Linked DNA regions of Homo sapiens: region 2 is linked to region 1. Evidence: promoter capture Hi-C in human tissues and cell types (Jung and others, 2019). All regions are on one chromosome and are shown on one strand. The core of a region is centred on a gene start or on the middle of the fragment in contact, and the rest is flanking DNA. Distances in the headings are between cores, read along the strand shown. Region 1 holds the start of TMA16 (translation machinery associated 16 homolog). Region 2 overlaps FSTL5 (follistatin like 5).

The links. The method cuts DNA at HindIII sites, captures the fragments that hold promoters and counts their contacts. A contact is called where the count stands out against the background at its distance.
Region 2: a fragment that was not itself captured here is called in contact with the fragment with the promoter of TMA16 in region 1 in 1 of the 25 tissues and cell types used here (dorsolateral prefrontal cortex).

What each region holds. Positions count from the first base shown.
Region 1 is chr4:163,492,583-163,497,820 of GRCh38, reverse strand. TMA16 (translation machinery associated 16 homolog) reads right to left here and starts at 3,131. Exons shown (of 7, transcript NM_018352.3): 1 at 3,017-3,131. The coding sequence starts at 3,019. LOC124900805 (a long non-coding RNA gene) reads left to right here and starts at 2,597. Exons shown (of 2, transcript XR_007058354.1): 1 at 2,597-2,659; 2 at 2,925-5,238. RefSeq lists enhancers at 2,555-2,704, 2,735-2,874, 2,338-3,240 and a cis regulatory region at 4,522-4,793. The HindIII fragment of the contact is 18,907 bases long and covers 1-5,238 here.
Region 2 is chr4:161,624,674-161,629,911 of GRCh38, reverse strand. All of the region lies in intron 7 of FSTL5 (follistatin like 5), which reads left to right. Among named protein-coding and RNA genes, the nearest start is that of FSTL5-AS1, 400 kb to the left of the region's middle. The HindIII fragment of the contact is 6,404 bases long and covers 1-5,238 here.

The sequences.
Region 1 (5,238 bases), core at 1,882-4,381:
GATATCCACGCCCTGATTCCTCCAGAACCTGGGAATATATTACCATATATGACAAAAAGGACTTGCAGATGTGATTAAGATCTTGAGATGGGGAAAATTATCCAGGTGGGCCCAACATAATCCTAAAGGTCCATGTAAGAGGAAGGCAGGAGGATCACTGTCAGAGAAAATGTAACCTTCTCTGGGGGAAAATTTAAAGATGCCATGCTGCTGGATTTGAAGAGGGAAGGAGCCAAAGAATGTAGATGACCTCTAGAAACAGAAAAATTCATTAGAGCCCCTTAAAGAAAGACAGCCCTGACAAACACCTTAATTTTATCTCAGTTAAGACTCATTTTTGAACTTCTGACCTCCAGAGGTTTCAGGAAATGAATGTGTTGCTTTAAGCCACTAAATGCATATCACTTTACTATGGCAGTTAATAAGAAACTAATACAATTTTTATGAGAAACCATTTTTTAGTGTTTTAAACCATGTACAAGTAATATTGTCTCAAAAAGATTGGTATACTAGGTAGATTTCCATTAATGTTTTTCTTTAGTTTTACTAACTTTCAGGAGCAAGTTTTCACTAACAGATAATCTCTATGAGATGTATTAAGCTGATTTGTTGTTGTGGCTCACATTTATAGATGTAGTCCCCAAAACACACAATCTCTACCATTAAGGTAGTCAGTAACAGCTAATGCCCCACAGTAATGTGCATGGATAAATGCACGGAGGATGATGGCACACTTTTCAATGGTATATAGTCTAGCTAGGGAGGGAAAGAAGCACACACAAGCTCTATGACAGGTTTATATAAAAAGGAGTATACCCATGGGTGCCTAGTAGTATTGTATGAGCCATACTTAAAAATACTAAAATCCTGGCTGGGCACGGTGGCCCACACTTGTAATCACAGCACTTTGGGAGGCCAAGGCGGGTGGATCATTTGAGGTCAGGAGTTCGAGACCAGCCTGGCCAGTGTGGTGAAACCCTGTCTCATTTGAGGTCAGGGGTTCGAGACCAGCCTGGCCAATGTGGTGAAACCCTGTCTCTACTAAACATACAAAAATTAGCTGGGTGTGGTGGCTGGCACCTGTAACCCCAGCTACTCGGGAGGCTGAGGCAGGAGAATCACTTGAATCCAGGAGGCGGAGGTTGCAATGAGCCGCGATCATGCCACTGGACTCCACCCTGGGCAACAAGAGCAAAACACCGTCTCAAAAAAAAATAAAAAATAATAAACACTAAAAACCTTTTTAATGCAGCATAAAGAAGTGTTGAGTGGAATGGATTAATTTGAAAAGATTATTTATATATAACAGGTAAACTAAATTTTGATATAAAGATATGAACTTGCTAAGCTCCAGCAAAGATTTACAATAAGAGAACATTAATGAGCAAAGTAACAAGGATGAACAACTATAAGCTGTACACTGTTACTATTTATATAACTAAAGTTAATAACAATAACATTTACTAAGTGCCAGGCACTAGACTAAGCACTTTACATTTAATTTCCACAATTCTATGAGGTAGGTACTATTGTTATCCCAATTAAACAGATGGGAGGTTAAGTAATTTTGCCAAGATGGCAACTCAGGGAAAGACAGGTGCCCAACTCTGTCCTTTGGGACCACATTCTGAGCTGTACTGAAAGAGGATGCAGCAAAACCACTAATGAGGTTATATCAAAAAAAAATGACAGAGCCAGAAATGAGCCAATGAAAACAGGTTCATATGCCACTCTTTTGACTTCTATGCCAAAGCAACGTACTTCTACTATACAGCCTGATAAAAAGTGAAGCTCTGATAGTCAAGGACAACTACAGTCAAATACCAATCTATCTCCCCAATCACTCAAACACAATGAGATGTAATTGCTTTCATATTCCACTCTGAAAAGGGGAAAAAAACTAACACTATAAAGAGTTGGAAATCCCACAAGCAAAGTGACAAGCAAACACTGAATTTACACAAATGTGTACAATCTAAAGTACAAAATATGCGTCAGCAGTGGATCAAAATAAAGCACAAAAAACTCGCGAAACAACGAAAGAACCAGACTGTAAGACAAAAATGGCATACAATGAAAAGAGAAAAAAATGAAAAGAAACAAAGAGGCCACATTGTGGACACAATATCGTAACTTCTGACCAGATTATAAACTTTTAAAATTTTGCTTTTATTAAAAATTAATTGAAAAAAATTTATAAAGCATGTTTCTATGCAAGAATTACTCTCAAGAACACAACGATTACGTAAAAAATAGGCAAGAAACAACATACTGTTTCAAAATACAAATATATGTAGTAACTATAAAGAAAAGTAGTGAAATTATAAATACAAAACTTAGATAATGTTTGCTTCTTAAGGTTTCCTGAAAGTTCAAAGAAGGTAACACAGGGCTTTCAAAGGCTATGTTTTATTTCTTAAAACTACAAAATGGGTAAACGAGAATTCCTGAAACTGTTCATCTTTACACTTGAAATGTGCTTTAGTAACACTCTTTTGTATCTACTCAGTTTTTAATAAAAACAACAAAACTGCTTCAGTGCCCTGGAGCGAATGGGGGCGTAACGGCAGGATTCAGGGCACTAACGAGAGGTGAACGGACGCCGAGGAAGAGGCGACTAAGCCCACATACTGAGTCTACCCAGGCCAGAGAGGCAGAGGTGTGTAGGGCCAGCGATCTCAGAAGTTTTGCCAAACTCCTCGATGCGTTACAATGGAAAGGTGCCGGGTTTCCCCCAGGAAGTAGTGACTAGCGAGAAGTTAGGCACAAGGCAAAGAGGAGCAAGGCGACGTGTGAGCACTTCAGCACTCGGACGCGGAACTCTAAGGTCCAGGCGTTGGGCCTGGGACTCGCCTCCCAGAGGCTTCGCCCCGCACCCCGCACACTCCCTGAAAATAAACACTTTGCATCCTCCCCTCTCCTAGGTTCCCGAAACCGCACCCTCCCTCTCTGCCTGCTCAACAAGAGCCTTCCGGGGAACCAACCGAGCGGTTCGGGGGAGCAGGAGGGGGCCCACCATGGTGACGTCCTCGTGGCCACGGAGCAGCTCCGCACTCTAGACCCAGGTAATCTCACCAACCGCAGGAGCAGCAGCTCACAAGAGCACCCGGGCCGAATCCCACGTGGCGCCTGAGAAGCCCGCGCCGACCCAACCGGAACAGGAGAGGCGAGTGCGTTTCTCTAAAGCGTCCCCGTTAACTGAGACCGCGTCTTTTTCGCCCGTGTTGGGCTTTTAAGCTCTAGCCCAACGGACAGCCAGACCTGCGTGCTCGCCGGGAGCGGCGGAAGGGAGCTTGCGGCGGGAGGCTGAACTCTGCCTGGTGCTGAGTGCGAGGCTGGGGATTGGAGCCCGGGTGGAGACGCTACACGCTTCCGGCCCCAAGAGCGGAGCTTGCCCATCTGTCCCAGAGCACGACTCCAGAGCGCAGCAACCTCTTCAGACAAGAGGTTCCCTCTTGCGGGCTCCCGCATCTCAGGGGCTGGGACCCTCTCAAAAGGGCCGCTCGGTGTTGGCTCCCCGGAGCTCTTGCACGGCACAGGCTCCTGCCCTCCGCTTTTCCACGTACTAGATTACCTTGGGCAAGTCCTTTCCTGCACTGAGTCTTTTTTTGCCCTGCCCTGCCCTGCCCTGCCCTGCCCCGCCCCGCCCCTCTTCTCTTTCCTTTCTTTTCTTTTCTTCTTTCCCTCTTTCCCGCCTTCCCTCATTCCCTCTTTCTTTCTTCCTCCCGGGTTCAAGCGATTCTCCTGCCTCAGCCTCCCGAACAGCTGGAATTACAGGCCTCCGCCACCACGCCCGGCTAATTTTTTTTTTTTTTTTTTTTTTTTGTATTTTTAGTAGAGACGGGGTTTCGCCGTGTTGGCCAGGCTGGTCTCGAACTCCTGATCTCAGGTGATCCGTCCGCCTCGGCCTCCCAAAGTGCTGAGATTACAGGCCTGAGCCACCACGCCCGGCCGAGTCTTAGTTTCTTTATCCGGAAAGGCCACTTCCTCATATTCAAGGCCTCTGCCAACCCAGTTTTTGTTTTCTTCTCACAGCATGTGAGAGTCTTTGTTTCACCCATACATGTTAGAATTCCGTAGACAATGTAATCATTCAAAAACTATTTATTGAATGCCTACTGTGTGCCTGGTACTGGGGATACTCCAACAATATCCCTCACTCAGCTCATTTTCCAGGGGATGGAGGCATGTAAAAATATTATTTCAAATAATATAAGTACTCTAATAAAAATTAGCTGGCGGGGGCATGTAGAAAAGCTGTTTTACACATGGTGGTCTCTATAAAGTCCTCTTTTAGAAGTGATAATTGAGCAGAGACCGGAATTGTAAGAGAAAACTAGGCATGGGAAGAAGCTCCAGGCAGGGTGAAGCTGGTGTGCCTTGATATGTGTGTGCAGCTGTTAACAGTTGAGGGTAGTTGGCTAGGTCCTTGGCGTTTTGAACAAATAATTGGACAAAACACACAAATAAAGCAAGGCAGCGAAAGCAGAGATTTATTTTAAATGAAAGTACACTACTCCACTGCGTGGAAGCAGGCTGTGGCAAGCTGCTCAAAAGCACAGGTTGCAGAATTTTCTGGGGTTTAAATACCTTCTAGAGGTTTCCCATTGGTCTTCCACAAGTCTGATTGGTTGAGGAAGGGGACCAATCTGAGGCACTTTCATTTTTCAACTGCCACACAGAAAAAGAAGGGCTTGCAACTGCCAGGCAGCAACTGCCATGCAGAAAAAGGAGGGGTTGAAGGGGAGTAGTCTTTCAACTGATATCCCATCAGCACAAATCAGTCCTAGCTTCCCTGCTTCCAGACCCTATTCTCCTGCCGCACAAATACTTGTATTTAATCGACAGATATATCAATTTTTGGAAATAATTTAAATTGTAAACAAGAGTGTGTCCAGAAGATTCCTGAATCTAGGGGCAAGGTATTTTCACATGGCTTTTTTTGTGTGTGAATCTATGCAATGAAGGTCACCTTTGAATATATACTGTGGAGGCAGCACATTCATGCATCACTTAAGGACGGGGATACTTTCTGAGAAATATTTCAATGGGGGTTTTGTTGTTTGTTTTTTGTCATGTGAATATCATAGAGCACACTTACACAAGCCTGCATGGTATAGCTTACTACCCACCTAAGCTGTATGGTATAGCCCATTGCTCCTAGGCCACAAACCTGTACAGCATGTTACTCTACTGAATACTGTAGGCAATTGTAACACAATGGTAAGTACTTGTGTA
Region 2 (5,238 bases), core at 1,658-4,157, 1.9 Mb after region 1:
AGACAGCCTCGCACTGGCTGTGCGCCAACTCTGTCGTTCAGGGGATAGCTTTCCCCTCTGAGACCTGCCAGGTAAAGCCTTTGTAATTTCCCGTAGTCAGGCCTAAAGGTTCACACATGAGTATTTGACCAGGAGCCCAATAATTTGGGGCTGATAATAATTTTGGTGTGAACTGACTCGGCCAAAAACATATATAGCTATGGCTTAGGGGAAAAAAATCCCATTTTCTTCCCTCCAAGATGCTTCTTTCATTAAAAACATTTTATGGGCCGGGCGCGGTGGCTCAGGCCTGTAATCCCAGCACTTTCAGAGGCCGAGGCGGGTGGATTACCTGAGGTCAGAAGTTCAGGACCAGCCTGGCCAACATGGGGAAACTCTGTCTCTACTAAAAAATGCAAAAACTTAGCCAGGTGTGGTGGCAGGCACCTGTAATCCCAGCTACCAGGGAGGCTGAGACAGGAGAATGGCTTGAACCCAGGAGGCAGAGGTTGCAGTGAACCGAGATCATGCCATCGCACTCCAGCCTGGGTGACAAGAGCAAAACTCCGTCTCAAAAAAAAAAATTATCTAATTTACTATAACTTCATTGATTTTCATTTTGTCTCTTGTGTTTTCACTCTTCCTTACTAGTAAAATTATGTTTGGAAATGTTCATTGTAACTTGGAACAGAAAACAGAGCTGGAGTTAGAGTAGTATGTGGTAGTAGGTCAGTCAAAACATGAAGGAAGCAGAAACAGCTTGTGGTGAGACTTATGTTGGACAGCCACAGGGTTCTGCTGCCTGTGTGTACCATGAAAATCACTGCTCTTCAGGGACAAAGCAAACTTAGTTTTAAATAATAATTGATGTCATTTCTTTCTACTTTGTCTAACACATACCTATAGATGTGTTGCTTTAGCTCCTCCACTAAATCTCAGGCTCTTTGAGAAATTATAACCCTATAATAAATACCAAAATTATAAGTGTATAGAAAGTTTTTAATAAATACTATTGAGTTGAATATGCTAACCAATTAATAAAATATACAGACCTTTATTATTCCTGGAGATCAGTGACTTTCATAGTACAGCCAGGCAGCAGAATTTCATGGCTGTCCATTAGTAGTCTGAATCTTGACATTAGAAATGAGCAAGTGAAAAATTGTGATCAAGGGAATAAGATTGGCAGGGCCAACCTGATAGGAAGTTAAAAGGAATAAATTACCAATTAGTAATGGAGGTTTCAGATTGAGATGCATTGTAAAATTCAAACCTAAATTTCATTGGGATTTAATGTTACACTTAACGGGCTAACGTGATCTCAGATGTCCTTTTTGGCATCTCTCTGCACATTAAAAGTAATATGACTATCATTCATCCTTGGTTAATCTGAAAAAGTAAAATAATTATACTCTGATATTATGTTATATATATTAATTTTTAGACATAATTTTAAAAATGGAGCTGCAATTTGTGTGTTTCCTTTAAGCCGTTTTTATCAAGGCTGTCATATTTCTGGTTGGAGTGTAACATATCCATCTAAGACCTTTAGACTAATCAGGACCCCACTGATACTTTAATTTCAATTTTTTCTTGCTTTTTAAAATAATTTACTACAACTAGAATAATCTACACAAGTAAAAATATAGAGATTATAGATTTTTCAATTAAGTCTGTATAAAAATGTTAGAAACTTATGGGGAAGAGAATTAACATTTTTGAGTGCCTATCACATGCCAGACACAGTGTGAATGTGTGCTATATTGATTTGTTCCTTTAATTATCATACAAATATTGTATGGAAAGGGGCATCTTTCCCCATTTATGTCTGAGAAAACTGAGGCTCGGGGACTTATTTAACCAAAAGGAAAGCAAGAGGTAAAGCAAGAATTAAAAGCTAGATTTGTTGGTTCCAAAATTGTACTATTTTGTCTGTGTGGGAATGTTTCCATTCATGGCTAATTCTTTTGTGTGTATTGGATTTGAATGAGAAATGAGTTATATTGACATATGTTACTATCATAAAATTATTCCAAAGTCTGTGTCTGTATGACCGTGACAGTATATATCAAAATTCTTCTTAATAATTTTATATCAGATGTAAAATTATAAGATTTTTTAATATATAGACTAAAATGCTTTTATTTTAGTCAACTTTCACTTTAATATTCCAGAAAAATATTTCATGATATTCAAAATTGTCATATGGGAAATTATCTGGTTGTACACTACTTTTGACTTAGGCAGTGTAGTAATGGGTATAAATATATGGTGAATTATTAAAAGTTAATATTCTGTAATAAACCATTAAGATTTTTGAGCTTCTATACTTTTGTAAAAAGGTATCTAACAAAAACACATTTTCTAGACTTTCAGGCATGCCTCGGAGATCTTGAAGGTTTGGTTATAGACCATCACATTAAAACAAATATTGCAATAAAGAGAGTCACACAAATTGTTTTGGTTTCCCAGTGCATATAAAAGTTATATTTATACTATAATGTATTCTATTAAGTGTATTAAGTACGATGGCATTATGTATAAAATATAAATGTAAATGCCTGAATTAAAAGTATGTTATTTCTAAAGTGGCTGACAATTATCTGAGCCTTCAGCAAGTCATACTCTTTTTGCTAGTGGAGGATCTTGCCTCAGTGTTGATGGCTGCTGACTGAGCAGAGTGGTAGAAGCTGAAAATTGGGGTGGCTGTGGCAATTTTGTAAAATAAGACAACAGTGAAGTTTGCTGCATCAATCGACTCTTTTTGAAAGATTTCTCTGCAGCATATGATACTTTTCATAGTGTTTTACACACAGTAGAATTTCTTTCACAATTGAAGTCAATTATCTTAAACCCTTTATCAACTAAGTTTACATAATCTCCTAAATCATTTTTTGTCATTTAAACAATTTTCATGCATCTTCCCCAGTAGGTTGCATCTCAGGAAACCTCTTTGTTTGCTCATCCATAAAAAGCAAGTAATCTGTTCAACTTTTATAGTGCTACTGTAGCAACTCATTCACATCTTCAGGCTCCACTTCTCATTCTAGTTTTGCTATTTGCATCACATCTGTAACTCTTGAACCCTTTGAAGCCATCCATGAGGATTGGATTCAACTTCTTCCAAACTCCTGTTAATATAAATGTTTGACCTTCTGGCATAAATCATGAATGTTCTTAACGGCATCAAGAATGGTGAATCCTTTCCAAGAGATTTTCAATTTATCATGCCCAGATGTTCCTGTGGCAGCTGTAGCCATACAAAATGTGTTTCTTAAATAATAAGACTAGAAATGAAAAATTATTCTTGATCCATGTGTTGCAGAATGAATGTGGTGATTGCAATCATAAAAGCAAGATTCATATCCTTGCACATCTCCATCAGAGCTCCTGGATGACTAGGTGCGTTGTCAATGAGAAGTAATATTTTGAAAGGAATCGTTTTTTATTTTTTTATGAGCAGTATGTCTCAATAGTGGGCTTAAAATATTCAGTAAGCCATGCTTTAAACAGATGTGCTATGATCCAGGCTGTTGTTCCATTTAAGAAGCACAGGCAGAGTAGATTTAGAATAATTCTTAGGGCCTTAGGATTTTCAGAATAATAAATAAGCATTGGCTTCAATTCAAAGTCACCGAGTGCATTAGCCCTTAACAAGAGAATCGGCCTGTTTTTTAAAGCTTTAAAGACAGACATTGTCTTCTCTCTAACTACAAGTCCTAAATGGTATTTTCGCCCATCACAAGATGGTTTTGTCTACATTAAAAATATTTTGTGTAGTGTAGTCAGCTTCATCAATGATCTTAGCTAGCTCTTCTGGATAACTTGCTGCAGCTTCTACATCAGCATTCGTGTCACCATGCACTTTTACATTATGGAAGTGGCTTTTTTCCTTAAACTCCATGAACTAACCTCTTTCTTACAGAAGAAAAGCTTCCAAATTTTCTCTGTGCTTTCATATATCTCAGCCTCCATAAAATTGAAGAGATTTACAGCCTTTCTCTGGATTAGTTTTGTCTTAAGGGAATGTTGTGGGTGGTTTGATCTTCTATCCAGACCACTCAAACTTTCTCTATATCATCAATAAACCTGTTTCGCTTTGTTATTTTTTGTGTGTTTATTGAAATTGCACTTTTAATTTCCTTCAAGAACTTTTCCTTTGCATTTAAAACTTGGATGTTGGGCACAAGAACCCTAGCTTTTGACCTGTTTCGGCTTTCAACATGCCTCTCCCACTTACCTTCATCATTTCTAGTTTTTGATTTAAAATGAGAGGTGTGTGACTCTTCCTTTCACTTAAACACTTAGAGGTCATTGTAAGGCTATTGTTGGCCTAGTTTTAAAATTTGTGTCTTAGGGAATAGGGAGGCCTGAGGATAGTGAGAGAGATGAAGTATTGGCCAGTCGGTGAAGCACACATTTTTCAATTAAGAACACACGCAATTTTTACCAATTGTTTGCCACATTTTAGGCATGTAGTTCATGGCAACCGAAAACAATGACAATATTAACATCAATGATAACTGATCACAATCATCATAATATAATAATAACAAAAAAGTTGGAGATATTGTGAGACTTATCAAAATGTGACACAGAGACATGAAGTGAGCACATACTGTAGGAAAAATGGTGCCTATAAACTTGCTCAAGGCTGAGTTACCAGAACCTTTTCGTTTGTAAAAATTGCAATATCTGTAAAGCATAATAAAGCAAAGTAAGCTTGTACTGTGAAATACTGATATTAAACTAGTACCTATAGAAACATTGTTAATTTATTGACTGTAAATTTGCATGTGATTAAAAGGAACTTTTTGAGTACTATTGTTCCATATGACAGATATTTTCTTCTGTTATCCCATTATTGAACAATACTGTATACTATTAACCATCATAGAATCCTAGAATGGCAAACTGGTATTTCCTAATACAACACCTAGTTCAGCTGCTGTTGATGCTGGACAAAATGGTCCCCAAAAAAGGGTTTACATATTGTTCACTGTAGCACCGGCTTCTCTGCTGCTTCCGGTAGGACTTCTGCATAGAATCTGGAACTAAAGTTTGGCATACAGCAAATATGTCCAAATTCAGCAGTATCTACAAAACATATACTGGTTGATAAAGATAAAAATATGTGCACTAAAATGCAAAAATATATTAGAAAAGGTAATACTTATTTTAATCTTGGAATAGTATCGTTCTTCCTCATTCTAGATGCTTAACTTATTGCAGAGTGGTAGATAATATTTTTTTTTCTCA